Regions from separate parts of the Homo sapiens genome. Here region 1 is linked to region 2. Evidence: promoter capture Hi-C in 16 types of primary human blood cells and fetal thymus (Javierre and others, 2016). All regions are on one chromosome and are shown on one strand. Each heading gives the region's core, a stretch centred on a gene start or on the middle of the fragment in contact. The rest is flanking DNA. Distances are from core to core; before and after follow the strand shown. Region 1 holds the start of FNDC3B (fibronectin type III domain containing 3B). Region 2 holds the start of ACTRT3 (actin related protein T3).

What was found. The method cuts DNA at HindIII sites, captures the fragments that hold promoters and counts their contacts. A CHiCAGO score of 5 or more calls a contact.
Region 1: a contact is called between the fragment with the promoter of FNDC3B here and the fragment with the promoter of ACTRT3 in region 2, in 1 of 17 cell types (non-activated CD4 T cells). The highest score is 7.5, in non-activated CD4 T cells.

Annotation. Positions count from the first base shown.
Region 1 is chr3:172,034,953-172,041,739 of GRCh38, reverse strand. FNDC3B (fibronectin type III domain containing 3B) reads right to left here and starts at 2,162. Exons shown (of 26, transcript NM_022763.4): 1 at 1,969-2,162. RefSeq lists silencers at 810-1,179, 1,240-1,489, 1,670-1,769, 1,910-2,089 and enhancers at 1,008-1,674, 1,675-2,342, 5,406-5,465. The HindIII fragment of the contact is 7,479 bases long and covers 1-4,259 here.
Region 2 is chr3:169,767,756-169,775,092 of GRCh38, reverse strand. ACTRT3 (actin related protein T3) reads left to right here and starts at 5,532. Exons shown (of 2, transcript NM_032487.5): 1 at 5,532-5,772; 2 at 6,743-7,337. The coding sequence starts at 5,573. MYNN (myoneurin) reads right to left here and starts at 1,697. Exons shown (of 8, transcript NM_018657.5): 1 at 1,631-1,697; 2 at 532-828. The coding sequence starts at 797. TRV-AAC1-1 (tRNA-Val (anticodon AAC) 1-1) reads right to left here and starts at 2,863; the gene lies at 2,791-2,863. RefSeq lists enhancers at 1,598-1,892, 1,531-2,034, 5,308-5,452, 5,544-5,803, 6,665-6,809 and 2 more, cis regulatory regions at 5,380, 6,737 and a silencer at 5,394-5,463. The HindIII fragment of the contact is 4,942 bases long and covers 3,035-7,337 here.

The sequences.
Region 1 (6,787 bases), core at 913-3,412, 2.3 Mb before region 2:
GGCGTTGCCCGGGCACCCAGGTTCATAGCTTTAACTTAGGGGTGGAGGAGCAACTCCGGCAGCAGAAATCATTACAGAGCGAAGCAATTTTGCCCAAGGCCTGAGGCCTCAAAAAAAAAGTGTTATTCCAGAGCAGATTCCTTTTCTTCCGGGTCTGTCTGCTCCTTCTGACTCTTTGCCCACAACCACCGTGCCTCCCCATTCCCAACGCCCCACCTCCTGCCACATTTATTTAAAAAAAAAAAAAAGAAGAAGAACAAGAACAAGAAGGAGGAGGAGGAGAAGAGAAGGAAGGAAGGAAGGAAGGAAGGAAGGAAGGAAGGAAGGAGAGAGAAGGAGAAAGAAAGAAAGAAAAAGAAAGAAAGAAAGAAAGAAAGAAAACGATTTTTAAAAAGCATATTCCCTCTCCCTTAGCTTTCCCTAGGAAGGCCTGGAAACTGAAGGAAATTCAAATCAAATTAGTTGCACATTAAAAAATAAACAGACAAGCAATCAGGGGGTGCCCACCCAACAAAAGACCTCACCCGTTCCAAAATATGATTAAGCCTGGGAGGGAAGAGGGGGAGGGGGGACTAGAAACCAGCAGGGATGGAGAGAGAAACCTGTGGATTTTTGGCCCCAGCGTTGGCCCATTGCGGCCAAATTCTAAATTTTGTTTAAATAAAATGCTGGGTTGAGGAGAAAAGAAAACAAAAAGTTATAACTTTTAAGGAAGTCTGCAAACGGCACTGTCTGGATAAAATGCCATTGCTTCCCTTCGTCTGGGATGGCAGGGTGGGAGCTGAGATTCCAAAAGCTCCAACTCCGACCGCGCACTCCTGGAAGCCTCCCCGCCAAAGGCGCCGCCGGGCGGCGCAGCCCAGTCTCCCGAGACGGCGGGCCCGGGTCCTCCGGTTCCCACGGGACGCCGGGACCCGGACCTCTGGGAAAGTTCGCGGGCACAGCCCGAGGCCCCACTTTCTGCCGAGAGTGACAGGCCCTTCCCACGCCTGCCGGCCCCAGCCCAGCCGCGGGCACCAGACGGTCCGCGCGGCCCCTCCTGGCCGCCTCGGGGCGCAGATTCCGCCCGCCCGCCCTATCCCCGGCCGAGGCGCCCCTCGGGGTGACCGACTGACCGGAGCTCCGCTGGCCCACACACCGGGTCGCCCGCTCCTTCCCGCCGCGCCCCGCTCCCCCGCCCGAGCTTCCAGCCGCCGGCTCGCCAAGTCCGGCCGCGGCCGCCGGTTACCGCCCCCAGCCCGGGGGGAGCCCGGGGGGCAGGACGGGGAGGAGGACGTGGCGTGCTCGGAGGTGGCCAGCAGCGGGGCGGGGAGTGTCCCGGAGAGGCCCAGCCGGGGACGGGGGGGCCAGGCCGGCGCGGGCTCGGGACCCTCCCCGCGAGCATCCCCGGGTTCGAGGCCCCCGACCGCCCCCGCCGGCGCGGAGAGGCGGCCCCAACTTCCAGCCCCACTTCGCACTCCCGCCCTCTTCCCTCCACCATATGGAAATCTACAGCCTCAGAAAGTGACACGTCGAAGATTCCTCGGCCTCGCCGCCCGCCCTCCCCCTCCTGGGCAGCGTTCCTGCCGCGGAGATTCCGGGAGGGGGAGCGGATTCCTCGGACAAAATCTGCTGGGAAGGCTGGGGGTGGGGGGAGGCCGCGAGCCACTGCCCAATTTTTTTTAAGAGGAATCTACCCGTTTCTTTCACTCCTCCAAACCCTGAGGCAGGGGGCACAGGCGGGGGACCCCAGCCCAGCAAGGCGGGGGCCGCCCCCTCCCGGGTCCCGTGTTCCCGGGGTGCCCAGGCGAGCACGGGGCGCCCCAGCACTCCGGCGCCAAGTTTTTGCCGGGAAGCCCAGGGCGCTCCCGGGACAGGGACGCACTTTGGCGGACTCGGCGTCAGGCCGGGGCTTTCCAGTGCACCGGGACCCGGCGATCGCGCTCGGGGTCCCGGTCTCCTCTAGTCCCCGGCTCTTGCACGCCTTACCTTCCCTAGGGCTGAAACGCGGGGCTCTGGGCGCGCCACACACCGGGTCGCCCACGCCTTCCCAGCCGGCAGCCTGGAGGATCCCTGCCGCCCCCTTCGCTGCTCCCGCCGCCGCCGCTCTCCTCCTCCAGCCGCCGCCGCCGCCGCTCAAATAACTACCAGGAGGGTTTGATGGGGGATTCCGCCATGTCAATGATGTCGGGACCACATGGGGATTTGGGGCCCGCCCATTACCGTAAACCGCCGAATATACCGGCCGCCACAATCGCAGACTCGCAGAAGCTGTTGTCCCCCGGCCCTGCCTAGCTAAGCAGAAACTCCTTTTGGTTCAGCCAGACTAAAGAAACCTGAGGCTTAGGGAACTAACAACTCCTGAATGGCGAGGGCTGCGCGTTCTGCAGATCGCCAAAGTAATATAAAGGCAATGTTTACTCAGTGATAATTAAGCCTAAAACTGACTTTTTTTCATTTACACATATATTTCGCTTTTTGTTGTTGTTAACCCCCACAGCAACCTTGTGAGCTATATTACTCCCACATTTCCCACAGCATTTTATTCATACAACTAACATAGTATGAGCAATTTTTATTATACTTAAGTTAAAATCTCTCTTTCCTCTTTCTTTTTGTTTTTTGTTTTTTGTTGTTGTTGTTGTTTGTTTTGGGGACTGCAGGCACGGGGCAGGCATGAGCCACCGCACCCTTTTTTTTTTTTTTTTTTTTTCCTTTTTTGGAAGAGAGGGGGTCTCAATAGGTTGCCCAGGCTGGTCTGGAACTCTGTCGCTCAAGTGATTCTCCCGCCTTGGCCTCCCAAAGTGTTGAGATTACAGGCGTGAGCCAACTCACCCAGCCTTATTTCACAATGCGTTTCTCAGGGACAAAGACTGTTTCTTACTTTTATCTTTATATCCGTAAAATATAGCACAGTGCAAGGACCACAATAGGACTCATTAAATAACTGTTGAGTTCATATTAAGTCAAATGTAATGTATTTCTGTTGTACAGGCTCTAAGAGGTTAACAGACTGCATCCCATGCCACCCCTCAGATTATTCAGGAGACAAGAGAGCAAAAGTTAGCCTAGAGAAGCCCCTTCCATCCATAGCTGTCCAGGTATTCTGAATAGCTACATTCAGCCTCAACTATTAAGCTACAAAGGAGCATTCAGGGAGTCACTAGAGACAATGTATTACTTTTGTTAACCTAAAAAATAATAATAGCAGTACATAATACTCTGTTAAAGTCTAAAGAACACTAAGAAATAGCTCCTTCCTTCCCTTGTTCATTTGCCATTCTTTTGGGGAGATTTTAGCCTTTTTTTTTTTTTTTTGGAGGCAATGGTGAGTCCAGAGAAATGGGGACCTCTCTCCTAAATGGCTTATTTACTGTGGAGCTCCTCAAAGGGGAACTTGAAGCCATCTTTCTATAACATAACTCCAATTCTAGGTCATAGTCCTGCATGAGAAGCCGGGGCGGGGGGTAGGCAGTAGTTCCTTAGTGCCAATAGGGTACAATCCAATAGATCCCATTTGAGTCCAAATGCCTTCTCTGGCTCCAGACTCTTTGGCTTCCTCAGGTGCCATGCCTTCAGCCCAGCTGATCACTCATGGCTCCAGAAGGTACCTGTGTCCCTTTGTACGTGCCTTCCCTCTGAAACATACTTCTTCTTCCCTATTTAAGATCATTTACTCATCCTTGATCTCCGGCTAAAACCACTCCCTCCTTTCCTCCCTACAGTCTCATACCTCTTTTCCCCACAATCTTATAATCCTTGTCAGTTCTCACATTGCTCTGAAGTTAGTCTTTTTTTTTTTTTTTTTTTTCTGAGGCTAGAGTGCAGTAGCATGATCGTAGCTCACTGCGTCTTCAAGCTCCTAGGCTCAAGCGAGTCTCCCACCTCAGCCTCCCAAGTAGCTGGGACTACTAGTGTGTGCCATCACGCCTGGCTAATTTTTTTTTAATGTTTCTTTTTTTTTTTTCATTTTTGTTGCCCAGGCTGGTCTCAGACTCCTGAGCTCAAGCAATCCTCCTGCCCCAGCTCCCAAAGTGCTGGGGTTATAGGCATGAGCCACTGTGCCCAGCCTGAAGTTAGTTATACTTTATCTCTTCCACTTGACTGAGTTTTGTTCATGTTTGTATCCCTAGTATCAACCTAGAATTCTGCTTTGAATATAAGACCCCTTTGTGTTTGGTGAATGAATTAATTGTAAAGTATGTGGAAGAATCTGAATGACTAGGTAAGTGAGCAAACTTCAGAATGTGAAAGGTCAAATTCAGGTTGAAGGACAAGCTTGGCAAAGGAGGTAAAAGTAGGCAAGGGAAGTTTGGAGGACAAAGTTATTTATTCCTGTTTCTTCCACTAGACTGAATTTTTTCTTATTAAGAAGAAAAAGTTTCAATTTTCATATAATGCTTTATAATTTCACATGCATGTTCATATATATGATCTCAGTGTTTCATTCATCTTCTTTGCCCTAACACCTAACACCAGTTTTGGCACAGAAAAAAAGCCCATTAAATGTTTGCAAAATGAGAGGAAGTATGGTACACTGGAGAGAGCATAGAACATAATGAGAGAAAAGGAGTGATGTTGGGCATAAAGTTCTCTGAACCTGAATTTTCTTATTTGTTAAATTGTGATCTTTAATAAACCTTCTGGTCAAGGTTGTTGTGAGGATTAAAAAACTCAAGCACCTGGTACTCAGTAAATAAATATTGGTTACTCCTTGAATGAATGAATGAATGAATGAATGAGTAAATGAATTAATAAAGATATATTTCTTAAAAGGATTAATAGGACAGAATTGGAAGCTTCAGAGAAAAAGGTGGAATTTGTGATAGAGGGCTCTCACCTATACTTTGAGGGATTTAGATTTAATACAGTGAGAACACTGTGGGATTATTGAGGCATGAAGTAATTAAAATAGGTTTCAAGGTTATCTTAGCAGCAGGATATAGAACAAGGCTCATGTCAGAGATGCATGCCCTGAACCTACTTTGGAAATGATAAGACTTACACCAGAGTCATGGTTCTGGGAATAGGAAGAAGGACCTCAACCTAAGGCAATGAGTATGACTATCTGGTGTTGACAACCTGCATAATCTGCTGCTCTAGGTCCCAAATTATGAAACTATAGTCCTGGCTAAAACTTTGCTCCAAAAGCACCTTAAGATTTGCTCAAATACAAAAGTTAACATCCAAATGAAGATGCCTAGAAGTTAAGGCCTATAACAAAATATAGAGACTCTTAAACCCTTCTACCACCTATGCAATGTAGGCTGAGTCCAAATTTTAAAAAGATTCTTAGTCATACTTCTTCATCTCAAATAATTTATATCAAAAAATGCAACAGTAGTACACAGGAAAGAATGAAAGTATTGAAGCTAGCATTGAAAAGGTCTCAAACAATTCAACTTTTCTGAACACTTCTGTAGTCTAAAATGTTTAAATTTGAAACTCTCTCTCAAAGATCACTATGACTAGTAACACGTAATATCTACAAGACCCAGCTGCATTCTCAGTTTCAATGTCCTTCTTCTCCCTATAGCTCGAGTTGCTAGGTTCCCAAGGCAGGCTCAGTTCTGCCCCTACTCTTAAAAACTGCTCTTGACCACCAGGCATGGTGGCTCATGCCTGTAATCTCAGCACTTTGGGAGGCTGAGGCAGGCGGATCACCTGAGGTCAGGAGTTCGAGATTAGCCTGGCCAGCATGGTGAAACACAATCTCTACTTAAAAAAAAAAAAAAATACAAAAATTAGCCTGGTATGATGGCAGACACCTGTAATCCCAGCTATTTGGGAGGCTGAGGCAGGAGAATCATTTGAGCCCAGGAGGCAGAGGTTGCAGTGAGCTGAGATGGCACCATTGCACTCCAGCCTGGGCAACAAGAGCAAACTTCCATCTCAAAAATAATAATAATAATAATAATACTCTTGACCCTAAATAGAAGGCATTAACTCTTTGCATCTACTACTTATTCTAATGTCCTGAGCCATATCTGACACCAGCTTCAATATGAACACTGACCAAAAGCCAATTCATCTTGTTTTAAAAGCAACACTGCCACTTCAGTGAAGCACATTTCTCCAACAACTTCACCAGTCACATCTGTGGTTTTGCCGCCTTTTCTATTGTTCAAGGCAAGATAAGCAAATTTTAGCTCAATGTTTTATTTAAAGAAAAACACATTTTAAACAAAGAGATCTGTCCCACAGTTACCAGAACTATTCAGGTAGAAGCTGAATGATTGACAGGGCTCTTAAAAATCACAGGTTGATAGACTCCCACTGTCCCTCCCAAAGCAGAAATCTTGGCTCCCATGTCAATTACAACTAAGGACCCAGCCTCAGTCTGAACAGCACCAGGGAAAGGAAAACCTATTCCTGTGGAGACAGCTTATTATCAACAACTGTAGTTCTAACCCAGGTCTTCTGAAACTGCCTCCTTACAACTTTCTCCCACTGGTTTTATTTCTGCCCTCTGGAGGCAGACAAAATAACAACACTCACCTTCCACATGACCTCCCTTCCAATGAACTGAACATGCCTGGCATTTGCTCCCTAGAGATTCTCTTTTCCTGAATAAACGTCCCTGACATGCCGAACTCGTCAAAGATCTCTCTTCATCCTTCTTTCCTACCACCTCTGAGGGCCTACCTGTTCAGCATCTCTGAAAGTTTGTGATATGGTTTGGATCTGTGTCCCCACCCAAATCTCATGTTGAAATGTAATCCCCAGTGCTGGAGGTGGGTCCTGGTAGGAGGTGATTGGCTCATGGGGGCGGAGTTCTCATGAATGGTTTAGCACCGTCCCCCCTTGG
Region 2 (7,337 bases), core at 4,283-6,782:
CAATGGGAAACTGGAAGTAACTTAGAATTTTTTGTTTGCAGCCTGGCCAGCATGGTGAAACCCTGTCTCTACCAAAAAATACAAAAATTAGCCAGGTGTGGTAGTGCACACCTGTAGTCCCAGTTACTAGGGAGGCTGAGGTGGGAGAATCGCTTGAACCCGGGAGGCAGAGGTTGCAGTGAGCCGAGATTGCCCCACTGCACTCCAGCCTGGGTGACGGTGAGCCCGTCTCAAAAATAAAATAAAATAAATTCATTGTGTTTAATGTTCAAGTTTACATAAGTGAAATCACAGGCTTTGTTTCAGTAAATAAACGTGTCAGAAATCTTACTGTTTATTATCTGTGCTTATGAAAAATATTGCCTGCTCATCCTAAATCAGTGATACTGATTTCTTTATAAAAACAAACATTGTGTGCATAAATAGGTGAAGAATTTGAGTTCAGAGAATGAATGGAAAAAATACAAATCTACTTTTGCTGTGAAGACTACTGACTAGCTTTTATAACTGAAAATAAAATGTGTACTTTACCTGTCAAGATTTAAAGTTCCTGTGTATATAAACTCCAACAGTTTCTGAAATCCATCAGCCTTCACCTGACTCTGATCAAGAAAGACATTGTTCTCAGAAGTGCTTCTGTAGATCGCACCAAAATACTCACTAAAGGAGGCCAGCACATTCCTATGAGCTTTAAACTGGAATTCCCCAATCACTATGGTACAGTCACAGAGAAAACCTGCTTCCCGCTGTTTGTTCAGTCTCTCTAAAAGGTGCTCACAGTGGTGCGAATACTGCATTTTGATATCAGAATGGAATTTTACCCTTGATCTAAAAGACAAAAAGAAACAGTAAATCAGTAACCGTAAGTTCTCATCAACGTTCAGTGAGGGAAGGGACAGAGGACATAACTTAAACAATTTTAGCCCCCTTGAAAATCCTTATCAAACATACATGGTTAAGAATGAAGGGATGAGTGCCTTTCTATCTTTGGTTACCTTGATCAACTAACACAATCCTTTGGACACATCAATAAGTGACGGTGAATGGCAACACTTCTACCACCTGCAAAAAGCACAGCAAAACCTGACGCTTTCACATCTGTTGAACCCTCAGATTTTCAAGCTCAGTAGACATACTTATGTTACAAAAAAATTTTTTAAACCACTAAGACATGATCTCTTGGGACAGATAGGGGCAGAACAGTACGAGTTTTTAAAAACTGCTCTCAAGTCACCAAAACCTGTTAGTTTCCCCAGTGCAGTTTCTCCAAAACGAGAGGTGGCTGCCCAGAAAGCCGGGAATGCGCCCGGCCATGGCTTGCTGTCAAAGGTTCTATCACTCGCGCTAAGGAGGCCACACCTTCTCCCTTCCCACTCTCTACGCGAGGCGGCATCCGAGAGTGACAACCAAAGCCAGTCCCTCCTCGGCTTCTGCCGCCCTGCCCTCTGCCCAGCTCCCACTCCCGCGAATTTCCACAGCAGAGGTTGTGGCCCAGGCCACCCCGGGGCTGCCTAGCCCAAGCCTTCCACCTGCGCCCCGACCCGTGCTGGAACTCCAAGGAGCCTGCCCTCTGATGGCCCAGGCTCTAGAGAGACCGGGATGGCGGGCTGGGGGTGAAGTAGGAACTCACCGATAGCAACCCAAGGGGGGAACACAGTTTCTTCACTCTGTCTCCGCCATCTTGGGAGGACGTCACCGAGCCACGCTCCGCCCCTCCCTTCCTTCCACGGTGGCGTCACGTCCGGCTCTGTCTTCCCGTGGCAGTGCGGGAGGTTCTGGGGCCATGGGGGTCCGGCGCCGGCCAGGGCGGTACAGGATGTACCACAGAGACCCACTCCCCAGCATGCCAGGGGTCCCCCGAAGCAGCAGGCGTCATGGATACGAGAGCTGAGGGCTCGCTAGCTCGCAGCGCTCCGCCTGTCTTCCTCATCGCGAGCATTCTGGTGCCGGCAGTCAGCGTCTGGCGCTCTGCCGGGGCTCTGCGCCGAGGCCCGGCAGCACAGCACCGCGGGCCTCTCTCCTGAAGCCAGCTGCGCACTGCGTGCGGGGGCTTGTAGTTGCTTGTCTTCTCCCATCATCCTCCCCTTCCTCGGGGCCCCACCGGTGGAAACTGCTGCATGTGTACTCGGATCTCTGCCATAGGGGATTTTTTAGCTGAGACTTGGCACCCCTTTCCCGCTTACGTACCTGAAAACTCTTGGCACCCCCTGGTTTTTTTGTGCCCCAGCCAACTGTAGCTCAGCTTCCAAGATGCCCTTACCTGGTGACAGAAGTCTGGGATGCACGAAAGCGGAGCAGCTGGGCACAGTGGGCATGCGCAACATTAGAGGAAGGTGGGCTTTATACCGGAAAAGGTTTTCCTGCGTCTGGACCAGAAGATTTTTAATACGATTATTTACAGCCACTTCAGACGAAAAACCAAGTGATATAATACAAAAATGCTCAGGAGGCGACAGGACTAACCACTTTTACACTTTGATCTTTCCTTCTAGGCTGTACATTATTTTTTCAGTGTTAGCTGGTGAGTCAAATTCATTTTTTAAAACCCGGGACACATGTTCCACGTGGCAAGGCTTCCATAAAAACATTTGGTGAACGAATAAAGTAACAAAAACTTACAGTTCAGACTCTCAAATTGCTATCATGTCTTTTGAAGGACCGGCATACATTAAGCTAAGGCTTCCCTCAGAAAAAAAAACAAAACAAACAACAAAAGAAAACAAAGCGTGATCTCACGCTTTCTTCCAAGCGAAGGAAAAAAAAAAAAAAAAAAAAAGGGATTTTTTAGTGTGTTTCCGCCCGGTTTCGAACCGGGGACCTTTCGCGTGTTAGGCGAACGTGATAACCACTACACTACGGAAACCCCACTTTGGAGAGGGTTTTGTAAAGTCCTTGATATGTAAGTGTCAATTCGCAATTCTCAAGTGATTATTATCAAATTGAGAGGAATGAATATAATGTATTTAAAGAAAAAAACAGAAAAGGAAAAATAGCCTATGCCCAATTGAACAGAGCTGAAACCATTTCAAAAGCTTGAATCTGCACGCACTTTCTTCCAAAGTGCCCGGGTACCGCAGTAGAAACCAGGCACTCCCGAGTTGCCCTTCCTTTGGGTGGCCTTTTTTTTTTTTGTCTCCCTGGAAAGGCGTTTTATTACACATCCTTTCCGCAGGTTGAGCTGCTCAGAGTCCGGGGCGAAGCAGGGGGCTTTCGTTATTCAGCCGCGAAAAAGCCATCCTTTCAGCTTCTGGTGGAAGGACGTGTAAAATTACTTTTGAATTTCCTCTTTTTGCTTCCGAAGACCAAGCAGAAGTTCTAAATTGACTGCTTGTTTTCAAATTCTCTACAGATGTATGCAGAATCAGACACCAAGATGCGTTTATTGACATGCAATGTACTTTCAAATTTTTCCAAACTTGAATTTCATATGACCTGATAAACTTCACTTTTCCTGCAAAAAGACAGGCACGTCCTTCAGCCTAAAAATCAAGAGTAGCGAATGAGGCTTGCAGATTACACCAGAAGGATAGAAATCGAAATATATATATTTATATTTATTATATATAAATATAAATTTTTATATATTTATTATATATAAACATAAATTTTTATATATTTATTATATATAAACATAAATTTTTATATATTTATTATATATAAACAAATTTTTATATATTTATTATATATAAACATAAATTTTTATATATTTATTATATATAAACATAAATTTTTATATTTATTATATATAAACAAATTTTTATATTTATTATATATAAACATAATTTTTTATATATTTATTATATATAAACATAATTTTTTATATATTTATGATATATAAATATAATTTTTTATATATTTATGATATATAAATATAATTTTTTATATATTTATGATATATAAATATAATTTTTTATATATTTATGATATATAAATATAATTTTTTATATATTTATGATATATAAATATAAATTTTTATATATTTATGATATATAAATATAAATTTTTATATATTTATGATATATAAATATAAATTTTTATATATTTATGATATATAAATATAAATTTTTATATATTTATGATATATAAATATAAATTTTTATATATTTATGATATATAAATATAAATTTTTATATATTTATGATATATAAATATAAATTTTTATTTATGATATCTAAATATAAATTTTTATTTATGATATCTAAATATAAATTTTTATTTATGATATCTAAATATAAATTTTTATTTATGATATCTAAATATAAATTTTTATTTATGATATCTAAATATAAATTTTTATATATGATATCTAAATATAAATTTTTATATATGATATCTAAATATAAATTTTTATATATGATATCTAAATATAAATTTTTATATATGATATCTAAATATAAATTTTTATATATGATATCTAAATATAAATTTTTATATATGATATATAAATATAAATTTTTATATATGATATATAAATATAAATTTTTATATATTTATGATATATAAATATAAATTTTTATATATTTATGATATATAAATATAAATTTTTATATATTTATATTTATGATATATAAATATAAATTTTTATATATTTATATTTATGATATATAAATATAAATTTTTATATATTTATATTTATGATATATAAATATAAATTTTTATATATTTATATTTATACATATAATAAATATAAATATAAATTTTTATATATTTATATTTATACATATAATAAATATAAATATATATATTTCGATTTATATCCTTGCTTAAATATATAAATATATATTTTATAAATATATAAATATATTTATATAATATAACATATATTTATATAAATTATATAAATTTATATATTTTTTAATATTTTATATTTAAATTTATATATATTTATATAAATATATATAAATTTATATTTATTTACATATTTAAGCTAGGAACTACTATTTTGTTTTAATTGCGTACATTTTGCTTGGAAATCACAGGAAGAAACACAACAAAGCATTGCCCAAGGTACAGAAACAATAATAAACGTACTTAAAACTCATTTAAATTCCAGCATTTTTCTCCTTATTTTAGAAGTTTAACATTTCAGAAGCAGACACTGCCTCCCTTCCTGCAACAACTTTCTCCTCTTAAGTCTCATTTTTCCCCAGTTTCAAGGGCGAATTCTAGAACTCCCCGGAACCGCCACCAGTTAACCAGAATTCCGTGGCTTTGGAAAATAAAACTGCTGTTATAGCTCTTCTGGGTATTTGAGAAATGCACTTGTGAAGGGTTAGAGTTGAATCTTTTGATGCGAAAGTCGGGTTTTCCTGATACTGGGATTCCGGGATTCCAGGTGTTGGGGTGGCCCAATTCCTGCGAGAAGCAATAGCGGGCGGTAACATGAGGAGCACGGTGCGTCCAGCGAGTCCTTCCGCCTGGGGCCCTGCCGACCCCCTGCCTGCGCCCCCAGGACTCTGGCCTCACCCGGCCGTGCCGGGGCCTCTGTGACGCGGCGTTCCAGGCACTCGGCCCCGGCCGAGCCCGTAGCTAGAGCGGCTCAGAGACAGGAGGCGGCGGCAGCAGCGGCGGCATGAACCACTGCCAGCTACCGGTGGTGATCGACAACGGCTCGGGAATGATCAAGGCGGGCGTGGCTGGGTGCCGGGAGCCCCAGTTTATCTACCCGAACATTATCGGCCGCGCCAAGGGCCAGAGCCGCGCGGCCCAGGGCGGGCTAGAACTCTGCGTGGGCGACCAAGCTCAGGACTGGAGGAGCTCGCTGTTCATCAGGTACCTCCTTCTCCCAGCAGGCTGCTGGGGCTGGGGAGGGTGGGTGGGGTGGGGGTGGGGTAGGGTGGGGCTGGGGAGGTTGGGGGGTGGGGCTGGGGTGGCTGGGGGTGGGGGGACTGGGGGTGTTGTCGGGGGGCAGGAAAGGACCCCAAAGGAGGTGCGCAATGGGGACAGAAAGAATAAGAAAGCCGGGAGCTGGAAAGCCCCATCCAGCTGGAATTACTACAAACGCACGGGCCACAAATCTCCAAGGGTACCACACATCTAAAAACTGAACATTTTGCTCTCTGTGGCTATACAAATGTATTAAAACGTATAAAGTTATCGAACGAATTCATTTAAGAATATTAACTCATGGTCCCTTTTGTCACTTGGGTTATTCTCTTCAATTGACATTTAAACTATACTATAATGTGGACATTTCCCAATTTTTTAAAAGTCACAAGGTTCCAAAGGACAGAGAAAATGGAAAGCAACAAAAATCGCAGAGGTAGGCCGGGCGCGGTGGCTCACGCCTGTAATCCTAGCACTTTGGGAGGCCGAGCAGGGCGGATCACGAGGTCAGGAGTTCGAGACCATCGTGGCTAACACGGTGAAACCCCGTCTCTACTAAAAATACAAAAAAATTAGCCGGGCGTGGTGGCGCGCGCCTGTAGTCCCAGCTACTCAGGAGACTGAGGCAGGAGAATGGCGTGAACCCGGGAGGCGGAGCTTGCAGTGAGCTGAGATCGCGCCACTGCACTCCAGCCTGGGTGACAGAGCGAGACTCTGTCTCCAAAAAAAAAAAAAAAAATTGCAGAGGTAAGTAGCTGTGCTATTTTTGGCTGACACTTACCTGCTGTGAGAGGCTGTGGCAGTTATTGCCCATAAAGGGATATTGGTAATAAACGCGGGGAATTAACTGAGGGTCGAAGACAATAGAAACTAGAAAAATAAAAAGCTGTCATTGATCTTATTGCTTTCCTTACAGTTACCCAGTGGAGCGTGGTCTCATTACTTCATGGGAGGACATGGAGATCATGTGGAAGCATATCTATGACTATAACCTAAAGCTGAAGCCGTGTGATGGCCCAGTCTTGATTACTGAGCCAGCGCTGAACCCACTGGCCAACCGGCAACAGATCACGGAAATGTTTTTTGAGCATCTGGGTGTTCCTGCCTTCTATATGTCCATCCAGGCTGTGCTGGCTCTCTTTGCTGCTGGCTTCACTACTGGCCTTGTGCTGAATTCAGGTGCTGGGGTTACCCAGAGTGTGCCCATCTTTGAGGGTTACTGTCTGCCTCATGGTGTGCAGCAACTGGATCTGGCAGGCCTTGACCTCACCAACTACCTCATGGTGCTAATGAAGAACCATGGTATCATGTTGCTCAGTGCTTCAGACAGAAAGATTGTTGAAGACATCAAGGAGAGCTTTTGTTATGTGGCAATGAACTACGAAGAGGAAATGGCCAAGAAACCCGATTGTCTAGAGAAAGTTTACCAACTACCTGATGGGAAGGTCATCCAGCTCCATGACCAGCTCTTTTCTTGTCCAGAGGCCCTCTTCTCTCCGTGTCATATGAAC